Regions from separate parts of the Homo sapiens genome. Here region 1 is linked to region 2. The links are contacts of gene promoters, found by promoter capture Hi-C in human tissues and cell types (Jung and others, 2019). All regions are on one chromosome and are shown on one strand. Each heading gives the region's core, a stretch centred on a gene start or on the middle of the fragment in contact. The rest is flanking DNA. Distances are from core to core; before and after follow the strand shown.

What was found. Contacts are between HindIII fragments. The study calls those that stand out against the background at their distance.
Region 1: a fragment that was not itself captured here is called in contact with the fragment with the promoter of GUCY1A2 in region 2 in 2 of the 25 tissues and cell types used here (H1 embryonic stem cells and pancreas).

What each region holds. Positions count from the first base shown.
Region 1 is chr11:106,928,642-106,934,277 of GRCh38, forward strand. The region is part of intron 4 of GUCY1A2 (guanylate cyclase 1 soluble subunit alpha 2); the gene reads right to left. Among named protein-coding and RNA genes, the nearest start is that of GUCY1A2, 87 kb to the right of the region's middle. The HindIII fragment of the contact is 5,903 bases long and covers 1-4,259 here.
Region 2 is chr11:107,016,525-107,022,872 of GRCh38, forward strand. GUCY1A2 (guanylate cyclase 1 soluble subunit alpha 2) reads right to left here and starts at 1,952. Exons shown (of 8, transcript NM_000855.3): 1 at 1,229-1,952. The coding sequence starts at 1,531. RefSeq lists a silencer at 1,346-1,475. The HindIII fragment of the contact is 5,267 bases long and covers 1-3,820 here.

The DNA.
Region 1 (5,636 bases), core at 58-2,557, 89 kb before region 2:
AACAGGGTATACTTACACAAACCTAGAGGCATAGCCTACAATGCACATAGGCTAAATGGTAGAGCTTATTGCTCCTAGGCTGCAAATCTATACAGTATGTGACTATCCTGAATACTGTAAGAACTGGAACACAATGGTATTTTTGTGTCTAAACATTGAAAAGGTATGATAAAATACGGCTTTACAATCCTATGGGACCACTGTCATATATGCAGTCAATCTGACTAAACCATCAATGTGTAGTGTATGACTGTACTTGGATTTTGATTATTTTCAGAAAAATAAAATGTGGTAAACTGTACTCATTTCTTCACAGAATAAGGAAATGCTGTTAAACAGAATGAAGGGTTCTGAATCATGTTATAAGTACAATAGAAACTGATCTCTCTAATAAGTGATCATAATCTTTAGCCACCAGTATAATAGAAATGTGTAAACTAGCTTTGTCTAACAACTAAATAAACTGAAATAAAACTTGTTAATAACTCATAGCCTAATTACTTGTTTACTATTTTAGCATTTCTTAAAGGTTCAATTTCATGGAGGCTGAAAAATGTAAATAAGTGGCTTTCTTATAAAGCACTCTTACAAGTATAAAATGTTTTAAAGGCAGCTTTTATTATTCATCATAGATCATAGAAATCAAGTTTTCATTGCATTTTGAGGAGCAGAAATTGTCTACTAAACTTGGAATCCAAATACAGGCAGCATTTTAAACATACTTTATTGAGTTGAATTTTAAAAGCCACTATGTACTAAGCTTTGAAAGAAGAAGAATTGCTAAATAGTCAAAGCTTTTCTAAATCTCTCTACTCCACCAATTCATTACTTTTTAAGGTTAAACCATATCTGCTATGAAAAGAAAACAGAATCAAAGTTTTTTTTCACAATAGCACAAAATGTTTATAATATGGATACTCTCCCTATTCCTGAAACTAGCATTACAAAAATAACGTGATCATATTATTTACCTTTAAAGTTTGGGTTCCCTTTATGAATCTTCAGTAAAATATCCCTGAGTGACTGTCATTCATTTTCTTTATGAACTCTCAAGTATTATATAGACCTTTATTTCACTAGGCAACTCCCTCCATTTTTAATGTCTCCAGTTGTTGGAAAGTTCCTCTTAATTCTTAACCAAATCTACTTTCTTATAACATCTATTCTTTGACACTGGTTTTGCCTTCTGAAACAAAAACTTTATCTAATTTTTATATGATAACTATTTAAATATTTGAAAGCAGCTTTCACTCCTTTCTTATAACATTTTCATGGAAGACACTTAAAACAGTGCCAGAAATGTTAAGATACATAGATACAGATAAATACTAATGGATAGACAGATATGCCTTTTAAATATTAATATTTTGGCATTTTTCTCTAAGAATAATGATACTAAAATTTAACAAAAGGAGTAAGGCTTAGTCAAAACTAAGGATTAAAAATGAGAAAAACAACTAAGGGAATGTTTAAATATGTCTTCAGTGATAAAACTGAAACAAGTAGTAAACATATTTGTGGAAGTCAGGAGAATGTGGTAGTTATTTTAAAAAGAAATGGGAACAAACAAGAGAGGCCCACTGACTATGAGGTTGGCAATGAAAACAAGCTTCAAAAAGTTAACTTGCTCAAGGTTACCCAGCTAGTAAATAACAGTCTGAAGTTGGGAAGTCCTGCTACAGAGACTGCATTCTTTTTTTTGAGACAGAGTCTCGCTCTGTCAACCAGGCTGGAGTGCAGTGGTGCGATCCTGGCTCATTGCAACCTCTGCCTCCCGGCTTCAAGCCATTCTACAGAGACTGTATTCTTAATCATACACAATACTGTCTCTCAATACTGCTTTTTTTCTGTGCTTGCTCAAGGATGATGCCCTATCAAAGCATATGTAAAGCTAATTGTTTCTATCAGAATTATAATAATTAGAAATTACCATAAAACCCAATTGCAAAAAGAAAGATGCTGTAGCTTAAGTCATGATTCAAAAGTTGCTATAGGAAAAAATACTAAGTTGATGTCTAAGTTCTGGAACTCAATTATACCAAATCTCAAAATCCTTGAAAAGTAAAACTGTAACAAAATAATAAGAAAAGAAACCTAGTGTGTTATGTTGCCATGCCTTTGATATCTTTTCCTGTTTTGAAAGTACTTCGGGGCTGGACACAGCGACCCATGCCTGTAAATCCCAGCACTTTGGCAAGCCAAGGCAGGCGGATCACGAGGTCAAGAGTTCGAGACCAGCATATGGCCACACAGAATATATCCAGAGGAAAACTGTTATTTCAACCTAAGATATCAATAGAAAGGATAAAGTCAAGTGCAACTGAAGGAGATACTGAAATATGTAAACAGTGTTGACCGATAAAGCCCAGACTTACATTTCTATGAATGAAACTTTCTGAACAGAAGTTTCTCCATAAATATTTTTAAAGGACAGTAAATTGAAGATTATAAAAGACAACTGCATAGGAAGTACCTTTTAAAGACAATATCATATCTAGAATGTATATTTTTAATACAATTTATTAATAGGAAAGCAAACAACAATTAAGTATGGACAAAATATTTGCCTACATATTTAACTAAAGAAATTACACCAATGACTAAAAAGTATAAGAAAAGATGTTTACCATCTTTAGTCATCAGGGAAGTATAACTTAAAACCTAAGACACCACTTTGCACTCATTAGGAAGGCTATGATGAAAAAGACCGACAATACCAGGTGTGAGTGTAAAAGCTGAACCTTCTTACGCTGCCAGTCAAATGGGAAATGGCATAAGCTCTTTGAAAAACAGTTCAGCAACTTCTTTAAAAATTAAACATGTACTTACTATATGATGCAACAACTGCAAATCAGTTCAAGAGAAATGGGAACATATCCACACAAACTCTTGTATGTGAATGTTCATTGCAACATTATTCATAATAGCCAAAATCTGGAAAATCAATGTCCATCAACTGGTGAATGGATAAACAAACCGTGTGGTATCTATGCAATAGAATACTGTTCATCAGGAAAAATTAACAATCTGCTGATGCATACTACACTACAGATAAGCTCAAAAACATGATGGCAAACCAAAAGAAAAAGAAAGATAACTAATTGTATGATGACATTTGTAAGAAATGAGTAGAAGAAGCAAATCTATAGAGATGAAAGTAGGCCAGTGGTTGGCTGCAGTTGGAGGTAGGAGCAGGAATTAACTGCAAATGGGTAAACTTTTGGGGGTGATAAAGTTTTCTAAAACCAAATTGTTGTCGTAGATGCACTATTATATTCATTTACTAAAAATTATTGCACTGTATACTTACCAAAAAAGTACACAAGAACAAACAGGAAACTATCAAAAAATGAAGAGGTAGACAACACATTGAAAACATGTATTTTTTTTTCACTGAGACTTAAAGCTACTGGCTAAAATGATTCTAACTTAAAAACAAAAGGAACAGTTAAAGGAAGATTCTGTATGATTTTTAACTAAAGGGATTGATTTTTATCCCTGAGAACCTACAAACCTTTAATAGAACTAAATAAAAATCTGATCTCCAATAGGAGGTACCTCCTGTTATGCTCAGGGCTACAATATTTCTTGTTAACAAAAATTAAATATGGCAAAATAAGCACTTTAAGCCTATAGATGACTATTGGGAATACATAATTCATCATGTAATCATGTACAGTGTCCTCTTACTATACACAATAAAGTAACTATACAGGAACAATGCCATTAAGCCTCCTGTGTGGTTCATTTAAAAAAAATACCATACAGCAATTTTAACCTTATACTAATTTTTAAAAACCCAGAACCAGCATGAACATCACTAATATCTGCATCAAAATATCATACATGAGCCTTGTCGCTCATAGTTTAGAAGAGTCAGTATCATTAAAATGGCCATACTGCCCAAAGTAATCTACAGATTCAATGCTATTCCTATCAAGATACCATCATTATTTTTCACAGAACTGGAAAAAACTATTCTAAAGTTCATATGGAACCAAAAAAAGAGCCCAAATAACCAAAGCAATCCTAAGCAAAAAGAACAAAGCCAGAGGCATCACATTACCTGACTTCAAACTATACTATAAGGTTACAATAACCAAAATAGCTTGGTATTATTACAGAAACAGACACATAAACCAGTGGAACAGAATAGAAAACCCAGAAATAAAGCTACACACAGCCATCTGATCTTCAGCAAAGTTGACAAAAATAAGCAATAGGGAAAGGACTCCCTATTCAATAAATGGTGCTGGGATAGCTGGCTAGCTGTATGCAGGTGAATGAAATGGGACCCCTGCCTTTTACCATATACAAAAATGAACTCAAGATGGATTAAATATTTAAATGTAAGACCTCGAACAGTAAGAATCCTAGAAGAAAACCTAGGAAACACCATTCTGGACACTGGCCTTGGGAAAGAATTTGTTACTAAGTCCCAAAAGCAACAAAACAAAACAAAAATTGACAAGTGGGACCTAATTAAACTAAAGAGCTTCTGAAAAGCAAAGTAAATGAACAGAGTAAACAACCTAAAAAATGGGAGAAAATATTCATAAACTATGCATCTAACAAAGGTCTAATAACCAAAATCTATAAGGAAGTTAAGCAAACAAAAAATAACACCATTAAAAATAGGCAAAATACATGAACAGACATTTCTCAAAATAAAACATAAAAACAGCCACCAAACATATAAAAAAATACTCAACATCACTAAATATCAGAAAAATGCAAATCAAACCCACAATGAGATACCATCTCACACCAGGCAGAATGGGTATTATTAATAAGTCAAAAGCAACAGATGCTGGCAAGGCTGTGGAGAAAAGGGAACACTTATACGTTGTTGGTGGGACTATAAATTAGTTCAGCGTTTGTGAAAAACAGTTTGGAGATTTCTCAAAGAAGTTAAAAAGAGCTACCATTTGACCTAGCAATTGCATTACTGGTTATATATCCAAAAGAAAATAAATCATTCTACTCAAAAGACACTGCACTCATATGATTATTGCAGCACTATTCACAATAGCGAAGACAGGGAATCAACCCAGGTGCCCATCAGTGGTGGATTGGATAAAGACAATGTAGTACATATATATCATGGAATATTGTGCAACCATTAAAAAGAACACATAGCTGGATGCAGCTATGCAGCCATAAAAAAAGATGCAGCTTGAGGCCACCATTCTAAGCAAACAAACACAGGAACGGAAAACCAAATACCGCATGTTCTCACTTAAAAGTGGGAGCTAAACATTGGTGCTCATGGACATAAAGATGGCAACAATAGACATTGAAGACTACTGGATGGGAAAGGGGGGACAAGGGTTGAAAAACTATTGGGCACTATGCTTAGGACCTGGGTGAGGGGATCAGTCAAAGCCCAAACCTCAGCATCATGCAATATACCCACGTAACAAACCCATACATGTACCCACTGAATCTAGATGAAGTTCAAATTATTAAAAAATAATAAATTACATTAAAAGAAAAAAGGGCAATGATCAGAGAGCAGTTCTAGAGAAAGGTAAGCAACACACAAATTAAAAATAAAGGTCTCATTCATACTTACAAGAACAGAGTGAACTCCAGGTAATTCTGAACGAAATCATGTCTCAGCTCTGCTAATGTAT
Region 2 (6,348 bases), core at 702-3,201:
GAGTTTGTTGTACACCTGAAACTGCTGATACAGACATCCCAAGATGACCACAAGTTTGGAGAGGCATTTATTCATTCCACAAATATTTAGGAAGGGCCTAATATAAAGAAGCCACCAAAAAATGAGAGAGAAAGCACTAGAGAATCAATTGAAGAGAGAGTAAAGGATGAGGTGCAGGTGCAAGAAGTACAGAGCGGTTTAAATAGCTAATGTGAGAGAGAAAGCACTAGAGAATCCATTGAGGAGAGAGTAAAGGATGAGGTACAGGTGCAAGAAGTACAGAGAGGTTTAAATAGCTAATGTGAGAGAGAAAGCACTAGAGAATCCATTGAGGAGAGAGTAAAGGATGAGGTACAGGTGCAAGAAGTACAGAGCGGTTTAAATAGCTAATGCATGCGAAGCTTAATACCTAGGTGATGAGTTAGTAGGTGCAGCAAACCACCATGGCACACGTTTGGTACCTATGTAACAAATCTGCACATCCTGCACATGTAACCCGGGACTTTAAATTAAATTTAATTTAAAAAAAAAGAAATCCAGACACCAGGTTTACCCAGAGAAGAATAAATGCCTAGTGGATAAGAAAGAAAAAGAAAAAAAGCTACGGGGTGAGGACAACTCGAGATTAGAGATTACTTGAACAGAAGGCAACTCAGAAAAGTATCTGGCAAAAAGTATCTGAAGATGTGAGAAAAAGGATGCAACATAGAATGCAGATAGCCTGTGGAATTCAAAGATGTCAGAGAAGGTCACGCTAAGACCAAGAGAGTGTGGGAAATAAGGAGAGGAAGGGTTTCCTGGAAGGGGTTGGGGCTCCTTTGGGATGCTGGAGAACAGGATGAAAGACAGGGAAGCTGAACTGCAGAACACAGTGCCTGGGAAAGTTTAGGGGAAAGAAAACAGGTGGGTGTGAAGCAGCACTGGGGCTGTCCAGGGGGAACAGTGGTGAAGTAGGGTTCAAGGCTAGAGGTGGGCAGACAGGCCCCCGAATCAGGATACCCCAAAGGAGTGGAATCTTATTCCTTCCCAGTGCTGTAGTCCCCTCTTCCGCCCTAGCCTAGGGGATCCTCTGTCGCCGGAGCCACTGGAACCCTAGGCCGTGCAGGGTAAGGCCGGGCCGCCCCCCAGCGGTCGGGCTCTGCGCTCGCGCCCCGGCTCGCCCAGCGCCAACTTTACAGATCCGCGTTCTCTCCCCCGAAGGCGGTCCCCCCTTCCGCCCCCCGCTCACCGAGGGCGCCGTCAGGCGGCTGATGCTCTCGCCCAGCGAGTCCAGGTTGACCCGCCTCCGGCGCTGCACCCTCCTGGCCCCGGCAGTGGCAGCGGCGGCGGCGGCAGAAGCAGCCGGGGTCGGGGCCGGGGCGGCGGCAGCGGCAGCTGCGGCCGGGCTGGGCTCCAGCGGCCCGGGCGGGCTCCGGCTGCCATTCCAGCAGAGCCTAGACAGGGGGCACTCCCCCTCCTCCTCCGGGCTGGTCTCCAGGTAGTCGGAGCCCAGGGAGCTGAAGGACTCGGACGAAATCTTCCTTCGAGACATGCTGCCGGCGGAGCTGCAGCGGCCGAGGCGGTGGCGGCGAGGACGCGAGCGGCGGCGGAGGCGGCGGTGGCGGGACCGGCAAGCGACAACGTTAAGCGCGTCGGGGCCGCGGGGCGCTGCGGTCGCGCCCGGCGGGGCGGGAGTCCCCGGGGCCGCGGAGCCCCCCGAGCCGGCTGCTCATGGCGGGAACTTGGGGCGCCGCCGCACCTTGGGGCCCGGGCTCGGCGGCGGCGCCGGGCTGGGCTGGGGGCCGCCGCCGCCTCTGCTGCTGCTCGCGCGGCGCCGCCTCAGCGCCCGCCTCGGCGCATCGCCGTGCGCCGCGCTCCCGCTCACGGGGAGGCTCCGAGAGTGTGTGACCGCGGTCGGCGGGGCGGGGAGGGCTGCGGCCCAAGCAGAAGGGGAGGCAGAGGCAGAGGCTTCTGCCGCCTGCGCGCCTATCTCGCCCCCTTTCCCTCTCTGCTCCCGCCTCTCTCCACTTGCTGCCCTGCCTCCCTCCTTCTCCCTTTATCCCCCCGCCCCCCCCCATGCTCTCCCTCCGCGGGAATCACGTGTCGCCATCATACTCATTGGGAGTCTCTGCCTCGCCTGTCGCCACGTTTCAGGAGCAACGAGGACACTTCGTTGCTGTCCTCTGCGCGCCCTCCCTGCTCCGAGGAGGTGCGCACAGGAGCTCGGGTCGGACTGAGGGCCCCAACCCCAAACGCCTTATCCTCGGCCCTCGGGAGCAGATGGGTCCCGGCGGCGCTGGTGGGGAGAAGGGCTCGGGGCTGGGGGGCGAGAGGCCTCCCCCTGGAGCCACCTTGGGGAAACCTGACAGTGTGAAGTGGGGGTTAGGGTCCATGTTGTCCTTTCTCCGAGTTTATTTAGGAAGTTCCGAGGCAAAAGGGAAAGGCCAAGCGTCCAGCCAGCCCACTCCAGAGGAGACGCTTTCAGGGGAAGGGAAGGACAGGGGCAACATTTTGGCGCCCATCCTGCTGGAGCAGCTCCTGGGGACTTGTGTTCCCCGCCTCGTGCGAGGCCGTGTGGGCGCGGAGCGAGCCCAGAAAGGGGCGGCAGTGAGGACAGCGTCTGCTCTGACAAGACAGCACTGTTGCTGAGCCTCAGCCGGGCGGGGTGCGCGGGGCTCCCGGCTCCGCTGGCTCCTCACTAGTGCTGGACAGCTCCGCTTGCCACCTATAGCCGCCTTTGCAGGCGTTGAGAACTGGAGAACAGTTCCTCCTCAAACGACCTAGCACCTGGCCCGGGGGAAACCGGGGAATGATCCCACGTCCCTCATCCTCAGGGCTCTTTGCGCCAAATATGCGATCTGTTTGCACCTGACTGCAAATGCTGCTCAGAAAGCTAAGGGGAGTAGGGATAAATGCTTCTCGAACTGACTCGCCACAGCGCGAGCATGTCTTGCCGCGAGTTTTCAGCTGTGCGGCTTCATTCCAAAGCTTATCTCTTTGCAAACCAGTCCTTCCAGCGCCTGACCCCACTGCCCCTTGCCTTAGCCCCAGAAAACTCTCATACTGGTTCTGAGGATAGAGTAAGAGATGGGAAGAAGGGGCAAATGACAGTATCCCGAAAGGGGTTCCAGGCTGTACTTCCCCCTGCAATGAAGTGGATGAGCACCCTCCCCAGCTCACCCGATCTGCGGAGAGAAAAGTTTAGGGGCTCTGGCTTTAGTTTCCCAGTGAAACCGAAGCCAAAGCGTTTTTTTAATTAAAGAACTGGTCCTTCCAGGTGAAGGCAGATGGGTTTTTGTGGACTGTGTTTATTTAAAAAGCAAAACAAAACCAAACCACAAAACCTGTGCTGTACCCCCACCACAATTTGCTTTTAACTTCAAATCTTCCCAAGTGTTTGTTAGGGCTTAAATATAAATGCTATTTGAGGTTTCATTTGGAAAAATCCACTCAAACTGGTTCAGAGACATACCTTTTTCCCCAGATCTTAAATGGGCTTTAAAGATAGAAAAGTGTGTACTATCACTCAGACACTCCCCCTTCAAATTATATATATATATATATATATATATATATGTGTGTGTATATATATGTATATGTATATACATATACATATGAGAAAGAATATATATAATATATATTCTTATATATATGTATTCTTTCTCATCCTGAGGAAGTTTCTTTTAAAATAATAATTGTTACAATTATTATTTAAACTGTTGTGCATCTACTATTGATTTCCCCATTACTTCAATTAATTCTATGTGCATTTGTGTCCATTGAAAATTAGACTCAAATTACACTTTTAATCATAAAAAATCATCAGTTTTGCTAAAAAAGTTTCACTAGCCCCTTTTTCTAAATTATAATGAAAATTACATTATTCTAACTTTGGGGTAATTGTTTAATATTTCTGCTACACAGTATCAATCAGCATAAAGGATTGGAGTTCCTAGTTCTCTTCTTTGGTACTGATTATATAATAGTCAAGTTCTTTCGAATTATAGGATTTTAGTTAGTATTAAATATACTAAATAGCATGTGTCCTTCACATTCTTTCAATAAACTGCTGCGCACACAAATAAATATTATGGTAACGGCAAATAAACTTCATATTGAACTTAGAATTGGAACTTTTTATTAACCATTCCAACTCTTGTCTCAAAGTCAAAATTATTGAGTGCAAGGCAATGAGTATCATTTGTTTCTAAAATTTGTAAGAGGCCCAAGAGCCTTCCTGTTTACACTGGAAGTTTATTGCCAGAAAGAACTCTGAACCTATGGGACATTTTTTCTTTGTGTGAACCATTTGAATCAAAGACTCTTTACAGAATCTAGCCAGATGAAGTCGTCTTACAATTTTCTCTATGAATTACACCCTGCCTTTGATCATTATTTTCCCATGGATTTTTAAACTATAAACAAATCAAGGCCTAGATATAGCCAGTACAACATCTGCTTTGCTTTCAAGGGTTTCCTTTGTATTTCTGTTCAGGAGCGGGGTTCAAAAGCTCTCAATATGAAGAGTGCTGTGTTTATACTAGAATTGACATTTTTAAAATGAAGCATAGCTATTCTCCATTAAAAAAAAAGAAGAAGAAGAAGGCTTACAGTTAGCAAAAGCAATCTAAATACTTTAGGAAGAGTAGTCTGCTGAGAATGAATAGTCTGTGCTCTGATTTTAGGAAAAGAAGCTTGCCCAAGCTCATACCCACAAATCCAGCCCTGCTGGATATATTGTATTTCAATAAAGTATTTAAAGGCCACTCTCCAACTGGAAAAGAAAAATGCAGAAATATTCTTGGTTTATTTGTGAAGTTGGCGTAGGCACCTGACAACTCAGATTGATCAAGCATTGGGAAAGACTTCCTAAAAAAACAGATTCTTCACTTTAGTCAAGACGATGACTATTTTACATTGAAACATAAAGTAACTATTGTTTGTGCGTGCCTTCCCTTCACATAAATCAATCCTATTTATAAACCCTTTCACTTATATAGCCTCATTTAACCTGATTTTCATCCTTCTCAGAGAAGTTGTTGAAGAAAAGTCACGTGTGTCAAATTCAAATCAAAACCACAATCAGTCCTCCTTCCCAAAATTCTTTGCGTTTCCCAGGTTCAAACTCTTTACTAGTTTCTTTTCATCTAACACTCCAGCAAGAAAATCTGCAAGATTTGCATAAGCGTTCCCTGGAGCAGAGCTCTATCCTGATAGAAGACTGAAGAATTTCTCCCTGTCATTCTTTACATAAATCTGGCAATTCACAGGAATTGTACATGTAATATTAAAGCAAGTTTTCTAAAGAAATATAGTAGCTGGTGAATCCTTAACTAGGGCAAGTTTTTCTGGATCCCTAACCTGGAAAATCACACACACATACACACACACACACTTCACACTGTTCACCTGCTAGTTTAACCCTATGTTTGTGTTCGTGAATGAGATCTGTCTACTCTCTCACACTTAACATACCCCCTCTTTTACAAGAGGGCAAATGTGCTTTCTCTGAGAAATACTGGCAGCAAATAAGAGATACTGTACTTCATATTGTTGCACAATTTTGTAAGTAAAACTAAATATTAAGGAGGGCAAATGTGCTTTCTCTGAGAAAGACTGGCAGCAAATAAGAGATACTGTACTTCATATTGTTGCACAATTTTGTAAGTAAAACTAAATATTAAGGATAATATCAAAGTGAGAAGAACCATCTGCTGTGTTCACATATAAAGGGACACATAGAAGACAATGTAATCCATTGTCCTATAGTTATATTTTATCATAAAACCATCCCAAAGGGGTAGGATTCTTGCTGCTCAAAAAAGGATAGAGGAGGAGAAGGCTGGGGGAAAGGAGGAAAGAAAGAAAGACAAGCAACAAAGTCAATGCTACACTTAGTAGAATTTGTGACCCAGAAAGATACTTAAGGGTGTAATAACTGACTTTTTTTTGATGCATCAAATCCATGACAGCAAGAAAGAGGCAGGTGATCAGTGTATGTTGGTGCCTCTGGCAGACACTACTCTCTCCTTAAGTGGCTTTACATTCAACCATGCACCACAGGAATCCATCCTCCTCTTAAGAAGAGACCCTATTAGTCAACAGTTTGAATACTAATATCAGCACCACAGTCTCCTACAACTCTCAGCCTTTTTGTCTGCATACTCAACAATCCCAGGTCTCTATACACTTTATTTAAATTGGGATTCTTAATCCCAACATAATAGGACATATTTTTCCAATTATAAAGTTATGGAAATTCTGGCACAGAGATTTAAAATATCTTCCAATGTCATGGAGCTGATAAATATTAAAGTCAGAATTCCAATCCTGACTACTAAGCCCATGCTATTTCCACTGAAACACTTT